3 separate regions of the Homo sapiens genome follow, and all the other regions are linked to region 2. Evidence: promoter capture Hi-C in 16 types of primary human blood cells and fetal thymus (Javierre and others, 2016). All regions are on one chromosome and are shown on one strand. The core of a region is centred on a gene start or on the middle of the fragment in contact, and the rest is flanking DNA. Distances in the headings are between cores, read along the strand shown. Region 1 holds the start of CEP162 (centrosomal protein 162). Region 2 has its middle 1.7 kb from the start of BCKDHB. Region 3 holds the start of CYB5R4 (cytochrome b5 reductase 4).

Evidence for each region. Contacts are between HindIII fragments. The CHiCAGO score rates a contact against its expected background, and 5 or more counts as called.
Region 1: the fragment with the promoter of CEP162 here is called in contact with a fragment that was not itself captured in region 2 in 2 of 17 cell types (total B cells and activated CD4 T cells); the score reaches 6.3 in total B cells.
Region 3: a contact is called between the fragment with the promoter of CYB5R4 here and a fragment that was not itself captured in region 2, in 5 of 17 cell types (naive B cells, naive CD4 T cells, non-activated CD4 T cells and 2 more). The highest score is 6.1, in naive B cells.

What each region holds. Positions count from the first base shown.
Region 1 is chr6:84,226,391-84,229,090 of GRCh38, reverse strand. It overlaps CEP162 (centrosomal protein 162), which reads left to right and starts at 1,448. Exons shown (of 27, transcript NM_014895.4): 1 at 1,448-1,511; 2 at 2,639-2,700. The coding sequence starts at 2,698. RefSeq lists enhancers at 973-1,132, 1,034-1,534, 1,535-2,035. The HindIII fragment of the contact is 5,497 bases long and covers 1-1,711 here.
Region 2 is chr6:80,103,633-80,106,332 of GRCh38, reverse strand. No RefSeq gene overlaps it. Among named protein-coding and RNA genes, the nearest start is that of BCKDHB, 1.7 kb to the left of the region's middle. The HindIII fragment of the contact is 2,245 bases long and covers 146-2,390 here.
Region 3 is chr6:83,858,253-83,860,952 of GRCh38, reverse strand. It overlaps CYB5R4 (cytochrome b5 reductase 4), which reads right to left and starts at 1,264. Exons shown (of 16, transcript NM_016230.4): 1 at 1,096-1,264. The coding sequence starts at 1,170. All of the region lies in intron 3 of RIPPLY2-CYB5R4 (RIPPLY2-CYB5R4 readthrough), which reads right to left. RefSeq lists a silencer at 1,144-1,193. The HindIII fragment of the contact is 3,476 bases long and covers 59-2,700 here.

The sequences.
Region 1 (2,700 bases), core at 199-2,698, 4.1 Mb before region 2:
ATAGAAATTAAAAAAAAAGAAAGAAAGAAAAGAAAAAAAGAAAAAGAAGAAAAGAAAAGAAATTCTAACATTTAGAGGTCAGCTAGGATAGACAGAGACAGTGAAAACCCTTGAGGGGAGGCTATAAATGTGAAAGAAAAACCAAGAAAGAGAGGAGACAAGTGTATCAAATAGTATTGGGAGATCAAATAAAGCGCTGTCATATATGTACACTTACACACACAGAGACAGGATTAAAAGGTCTGACAAAAGGGAGGTAAAGTGGAAATAATTCCTCAGAAAAGATTGGCAAGTAAGGTGAGGAGACAGATCATTTCAACCACTGGGAAATAATAGCATGAAGAGAATGTGTCAGAAGTGATGTTTTAGGTGGGGATCTCAAGGCATGTTCAAATGCTGTTAGGAAAAATCCCACAGCCAGCCAGAAGTCGAAGATACAGGATTAAGGGAAATGACCAGTGGAACAAGATCAGTGAGAAGAAGAATGGGTAAAGGCTCTAGATCATATGTGGGAAGGTAAGTCTTTGATAGAAGGTGGCAGGAAGTCAACTTCTCAATAAATGGTAGCTTAAGATATTTCTTTTATTATTCATATTTGCATCATAGTCCACAGCTCCTGGTTTGTACATATTTGTATTGCAAGAAAGACTTGATGAATAAACAGTTCTAGCTAAAGATGAGGTCCTGAACTAAGTCTACCATCAGCAAAACCTGCAGCTGTTGTAGATTTTACTTACACTATGCTAAATGTTGTCCTCTGAAACTCCAGCTAATGTTGCATGCTTTGAAAAAAAGAAAAGAAATAGAAAACAAAATCCAAGTCAGTAATTGTGAAATGCCAGTAAAGAATGCAGTTTTGAAAAGTAGGGGTAGCGGGAGGAGCAATAACTTAATAAGAATCTTGCTGTTTGCGTATTTTCGATTTCTTGCCCACTAGGTGGTGGAACAGAGTCCCCATCTAAACGACAGTTTTTTTCCTCACAGGTTTGTGTTTCTCTCACAATGCCTACACAGGTCTTTGCAGGCCAAAGAAATCCAAGAAATTCAATCTCTTCAAAATTGCCCCTTGGAAAAACAGAGCGCTCGAATGACAAGTGTGGGGAAGGCGGGAGGCGACGATGCGGAGTGCGGAAACACAAGGACCAGGGGAGCTAAACTACATTTCCCAGAAAGCCACGGGCTGGCCTACAACCACCGCGCCCTCCAAGCCTGCTGGAAGCCTCCGTCTCGCTTCTCCAGTAACCGGTTTGCCGCTGTCCCCTTTTCTAAGGAACGTAGAGAAAGCCAGGGAAGGAAAGGCATTTTACTGCAGCAGCGAAGGTTTAGCCACTAGAGTGTCTTTCTCAGCCGTGGTTATTCCGACCTTCGCTTGTAAAGGCATTGGGAAACCCACGGCCCACGTGACCAGCCCGGGTCATGTGACTCCAGAACCCGGCAGCTGAAGTCTGTTACCCTGACAACTGGTGGACCCGCACAGACCTTCCGGGAAAGCGCGGAATTCAGAGGCAGAGGTAGGTGGTAAGGTGTGAACGCTGGTTTCCCACCCAAATCGCCCTGGTCGAGGCCGTGCTTCATACTCGAGCGAAGGGCTTTAATTTTCCAGGTCATTCCCCTTCTCCGCCCGGAGCCCACGGCAAATGCGTCTTTGTCTTCCCTCCAATTCCCGAACCCGCGCTTCTGGGGACGGGGTCGCAGCCAGGCTTGAGAAGCTTTTAGTGGAGCTCACCCCTGACCAAGCTATTCAGGCCAAGACCTTAACCGCACTTACCCTGAACTGATCGAAAGTGCAAATGAGGGGAAGAGGTGTTACTCTGCACGATGGGGAGGGTATTGTCCGGGTCTGCAAGCCCTCTTCCCCTCCCCCATCTCTACAGAAGAAAGCTGGGATTTGAGCTGCTCTAGGGAGTTCAGGAGCTGGGGGTCGACCCAAGGTTGGGTTCATTAGGTGTCTAGGGGAACGCTTTCCGTTGCAAATCACTGGATTCTGCTTGTGTTCAGCACATAATTTTTGTCGGTCTTCCCTCGCTTCAAAAGAAACATAGTACTGATTTGTGTACTCCATTAACTTTAAGTATTCTTTAAGTATTTTGACTAAATTACTAATTCTTACTAAATTCTATTTGTGTATATTTTGAAACATCCCCGTATCTGGATACAGTCTGCTTTACGAAACTATGCAGTCTGCTTTACGAAACTATTACTATGGATTGGTAAAATAACGAGCCGAGTGATAAGGCAGCACAAACTGTCGTGTGCTTTGCAAGAAAGAAACAGTCCTTTGGATTTGCTAACTTACAGTTTTTAAGATTCCCTGTGAGGACCTGGTTTGTGTTTGAGAGGTACTAATTAACACATGCACACAAACATAGGTTTGGGAAATATTGTAGAGACCACTCTTTAACAATTGGATGTTAACAGATGAAAACATAATTCTGAACGTTGAGTACAAGACATCCTGTCAAAGCTGCTTTTCCAAATCAGTTTGCTTAATGAATTAGGAATCTCTTGACCAGCTCTTACTGGTTAAAAAAAATTGTGCATATATACTGAATCATAACAAATGTCCGAAGTTTAAGTCTGGTCGTGTTCATGATCTGATGGATTTCCTCAAAAGATGTTTATGTCTCTTGTCATTTAGTGTTTCCAATGTTTGAGGTACTTTAGAATGTTTACTTTGGGAGGTCAAAATTGTTGACTATG
Region 2 (2,700 bases), core at 19-2,518:
GTTTAACATCCATACTTTTTTTTAAATGTAACCCTTTTTTATCCTGTCCTGTCTCTATTATTGTGTGAGAGGTGAAGAGAGCTACTGATTGGCATTGGTTATTGTTTTGACTTTCGAAAAACTGCTGTAGTCACTGCTCAAAGCTTTCACTCCTTATTCACACCCTCCTTAAAATGCTTAATAAGCATATATAGATTTTTATTGATTTCGTTTTTCCACATTTAAATGAGAGATGAAAGAGGTAAACTTAGATTTCATCCTGCAAATCCACTGAATAGGAATTCAGATACATTTTGCCCAGAAGTAGCAAAAATTACCTGATTGGCTTAGTCTAAGTAGCTTAGAAACCTGGAGAATTTGAGTCACTAATTTTCATTTATAGTAATCAACTATGTAAATTTGTTTTAATCTAAGTGTTTACCAGGATACATTCTCTGTCCATGAATTTACTAAAAAAAAAAAAAAGCACATAAAACATGAAATATCATAAAATCAAATATGACAAGAGACAACAGAGACAGTGTGTCCATCAGATGAAAATGGGAGGGTGGGGAAGGATGGTCCCAAAACAGAATTTGAAGAAGAAAGTGGGAGTGGAGGAAAAGAACATTCCTCTTCCATTATGCCTTGCCTCTTAACCCATCTTTGGTTTTGCACAGGGGCAAGGGAGGAGAGGGTAGAAATGGGGCAAAAGGAGAGGCAGAGAAATGTGTTTTCTGACTGAGATTAAGAAACAGCAATTGAAAACTGCCAAAGGGAGAACCAGAATTATGTCTCCATTTTTCCTACCCCCACACTAAGTCCAAAAATTCAACATTGGGGAAATTTTTTATCTTGGCTTTTGTTAGTGTTCATTTCTGCTGTTTTAATAGTGTGGGGTAGAGTGTTTTGCATGTGCATGAAGGGTATTTTTGTTTTAATGAAGGAAGGGGTAACAAAATGAAATTACATTTACATAGTCAAATTTGGGTTTAAACTAAGGAGAGTAAAGAACAAGGATAAAAATGAATAGAGCTTTTTTTCTATTTGTTGATAGTTTAGGGAGCTGGGGGTACTGAGATTATTTAGGTCGGGGAGAAAAAGAGAAAAATAATAACTGATGAGAATTTTATTGAACCTCTGCTACGTACAACCCAATGACAAGCCACCATTGAGACAAATAAGATCAAGGCATAGTTTTACTTCTAAAATGTCCAAGGTGGTAGAGAAAAGAGACAGATTAGGCAACTACAATCCAATGTGATAGGAGTCCTAGAATAGTGCAAACAAAGTGAAACACAAAAAGAGCAATAAACTCTTATTTGAAAGTCAAGTGTTTCCAGATATAACTCTGAGCTAGACCTAAAAGATGACTAGAAGTTACCAGGCAGACTAGGGAGAAAATGGCATTCCAAACTAAGAAGAAACCTGTATAAAGGCTGATAGGCATGAAGAGCACAGTGCATTCCAGGAAGAGAAAATAGCTTGGTGCTTCTAGATTCAGGGTGTAGGGAATGATACAGGGTTAACAGAAAAAGTAGGAAAAACAGATTAAAGGGAGATTTTGAAGGTCTAAGAGGTTTGAACTTTCAACTACATGCAGCCAGGAAAAACAAACAGAGCACCTGCCAGATTCACCTGTTTTGCAAACTGATTTTTTAAATTTTCCCCATCTCTACCACACCATTTGCCTGGTAACCATGAAAATGTCTATGTTATTACAGTGGGACTTTCCTCCATTCCCCTTGCCCTGGCCACATTTACTCAATTTGGGAAACTGTCCTTTTCTGGGAATTTTGGAAGTGTAGTTTAGAAAGAAAGATCAGATTATCTTTAAATGCCACTAGGAACTGCAAAAAATGGGAGTTTTCAGTAATTTCGTGAACCAGAAAAGGTGAAGAGTGTGATTATATTTGAGTTCCTGATTCCATTTATTCCCAAGGCCTAACTGCTTTCTGGTCCTGGGGTTCTATGAGACATCACCGTATCCTTAAAATGTATTCCCCTCTTTGTTTAAGCTATTTCCAATTGCAGAACCCATGACTATGGAGTTGGAATACAAAGCAAAGTTGCTCTTCACCCTTCAGAATGACTCTTGCATCACTTGCTCTCACTGAGCTTCACTACCTGTGCAACTTGTACCTGTTTAGTCTCAGCTTGCTTTTAGACGACCATTTTATATAGCAAGATGATAGTTTTGCAGTATTACATCCTGGCATCTGCCTCCTTTCAAACTCAAACAGAGGTATCATGGAGGCAGAAAAAAAAGAAATCAAATTATTGCTTTTGAATTTTAAAATAGATTTTAAACTTGATAGCAGAGACAATAATTTGAGAGAAAAGTTTGAATTCTACAGACTGGTTTCTGAGTATTAAACCTCAAAAACCTGAATGAGTTAGGAAACAAAGCTTAGGGCTAAAAGAAAAGATTGTAAATCACATACCAGTATAAGAGATGGTTTGTCTCACCTTCCATGGAGGTACAGCTATAGATTAGAAAGACCTGTAGGTATCCTCCTTTGTAGATGAACCTAGAAAAGTATCACTAAATCCTCAGGCTACCCAGCATGTCATGGCATTTGAAACAGCAGGATGCTTCTCCCATGTGGCCAAGAGAGATGCAGCTATGGCAACAAGATCCAGGGAACTTGAGGAGACCCAGCAATCAGAATGATAAGGACTTGTGTCTAGAATATACTGATTGAAAGTCTTAAACGCAAC
Region 3 (2,700 bases), core at 15-2,514, 3.8 Mb before region 2:
TTTAGGGCAATATTTCTTAGCCAGTTTCCTTTTCTGCGAAATAGAGACAATAAAAGCTTTCACTTCAAAGGATAATTGTGAAAATTAAAGTTAATACATGCAAAGCACTGAGAATATACACGGCCACCCGTAAGTACTTAAGAAATCTCTGGAAAGCTAATGAAAACCACAGATCCCTGAACCTATATTCATTCTGAACTAGAATCAGAACGCCAGGTCTAAGTGGAGAAAAATAAGAAAATCGATAAGGGTTCCAAACGATGCTAAGACTCAAGAGTTAACCGAGTGGCCCAAGTTAAGTGGAAGTGTCACAAACGAAAGATAAAGATATGGTTACAGAATGAGGAACTAACAAATAGGAACAAACAACATTCGCAAAAGAACAAAGAACACAATTTTTATTGAATTCTGCAAATATAAAATATATCTGTACAGTATTCCACCTGTTGCTAACAGCAACTGTGCTCAACAAGAACTCAAGAGTATTATTATATTTGCTTCGAAGTTAGCAAGTGATACTAGTAGAAAAGGCAATGACAAAACAATCAGGTACCAGAGGAAGAAAGAAAGGCAGTATGTCTTGGATAGTGTCTGTAAACCTGACCTAGCTCCCCAACTCCAGAAGTCCCCATCCTTGCACGGACGGTCACTGTCGCCACTGCCAAGCCTTTCCCTCCTGCGAGGGAACCCACATCGAGTGATGTGGTACAACTCCTTCAGGCAGTGAAGAACAAAAGACCAGGGAGAAGATGAGGTTGAGGGAAGGCGGCTAATACCGAGAGCCTATAATACCGCAAACACAGTGCCTGGCTCTGTCATATAAATTTAAATCGCGGGAAAGGACTTGGAGGAAGGGAACGGATAGAGCGGGATAAAGGACCAGAAAGAAGAGGGACTGCTAGGGGAAAGGGAGGAGGTAAGGAGAGTTTAGGGACTGTAGACAAAGTGGGATCAGAAAGAGGTTGCAGGCAAGGACAGCAGGGAACGACAGCTTAGAGAGGGGTGCAGGAGCTGGGAGTTGGGGCGGAAGAAGAGAACACACTGCCAGAGCTCGAAACGCAGCGAGGGGAGAGACTCACGGAGCCACCCGCTTACCTTGCTACGCCCCCCGGAGGCGACACGCTGCTGCGACCTGGGGGCCGGGAAAGACTGGGAAGGGACGTTCAGCATCTTCAAACCCCGGCCCCGGGCCCTGCCCGGGGATCGCCGCCAGACGGGACAGCACCTCCAGCTCCGGCTCTGTGGCCGGGCAGAGGCCAAGCCCCCGACCCACTTCCGGGGTCGCCAGGGGTGAGGCGCATTCTGACGCAGCACGTCCGCGGAGGGCGGAGCCAACGGGACGGAGGGAGGGCCGGCAGGGAGGAAGTACGCATGCTCAGCTAGTTCCGCATCCCGAACTTCAGCACCGGAGCAAGGTGACAGCTATTTCGTGGAAAGATTAGAGAGTGAAGCTGTTCCTTAGCCTTGGTGCTGACCGAATGTGGGAACAAATTCTTAGTCCTGTTAACCCGGAACAGCAATGTCTGTTCATTGTTAAGCAGTACCATCACACTACTTGAAATATGGACTAAAACACACTACTTGAAATATGGACTAAAACGAATTTTAGTTTCTCTGAAATTCTTTCCTGTAAGGCACTAGGCTGTAATGCAAAGAGCATCTCACACCTTTAAGAGCAAAAATATCAAATGTCAACAGCCACTACTGTGGGGTAAGAAGAAAACCTCACCTTTAATCATCCTTAAACTTCACCTTTAAGCATGCTGAGGGCTAATGAATGCGCGAAAGACGTTAGTAAAGTCACCTTCTGCTCTATTCACCCACTCACAAATTCTCCCTCCTTATGTAACTTCCTGTCTTCACTGGGAATTGTGTACTGATGCAGCTCACCTCCAGCTGTGGTGATGAAGTAACGTTTAAAAGTCAGATTTGGTTTGCATGCCATCCCTGCACTTAATGACTGAGCTGTCTTATGCAAGTTACTTTAGTATCTCAAAGTCTCATTTTCCCCATCTGCATAATGGGTTTATTAAAGATTAAAGGATCATGTGTAAACTACATACTGCAGTGCCTGATTAATATTAGGTACTGAATAAGTGGCAGTGGCTGTTTGTGCTATTCCAACATATTAATGGGAAAAGGACCAACACTGTGCAGGTAAACACCAGGCTCTAATGCTCAAAATCTGATGGTTTTTGTTTGTTTGATTGATTGTTTTGTGTGTCCCTTGGGGAACACATAGATCTTGAGAGTAGAATCCAATAAGGGAGAAAGTTTTCAGGAGAAGAAACATAGTTCTAAATAATCCTCCCCATCCTCCTTTAATTACTAATTTTTCCTAACTCTGAACATATTGTCATGCTTTAAACTTTCTCTGTTTAACTACTTAGTTCTTAAAGTGCCTAAAAAATCAAGGTTATGTTTGCAGAATCAGAAGAAAAAGTGTGTGACTATATGTGGCCATTCAAATACAAGCATTCAAATAAGGTAGCCACCTATGACATTCACCTCTATCCATTTTTATTTGCAATTGAAATGCTTATTATGAGAAGACTGAATTTGAGCTAAAAGAACCTCATGACTATAATTAACTGTATTACTTTGACTTTGCAAATTGCTTCTGTGTTCTCTCTCATTAAATGATGACATATTCTTCTAGAGTCTACACAAGAAAAACTAATCACTGAGATTTATTTCACT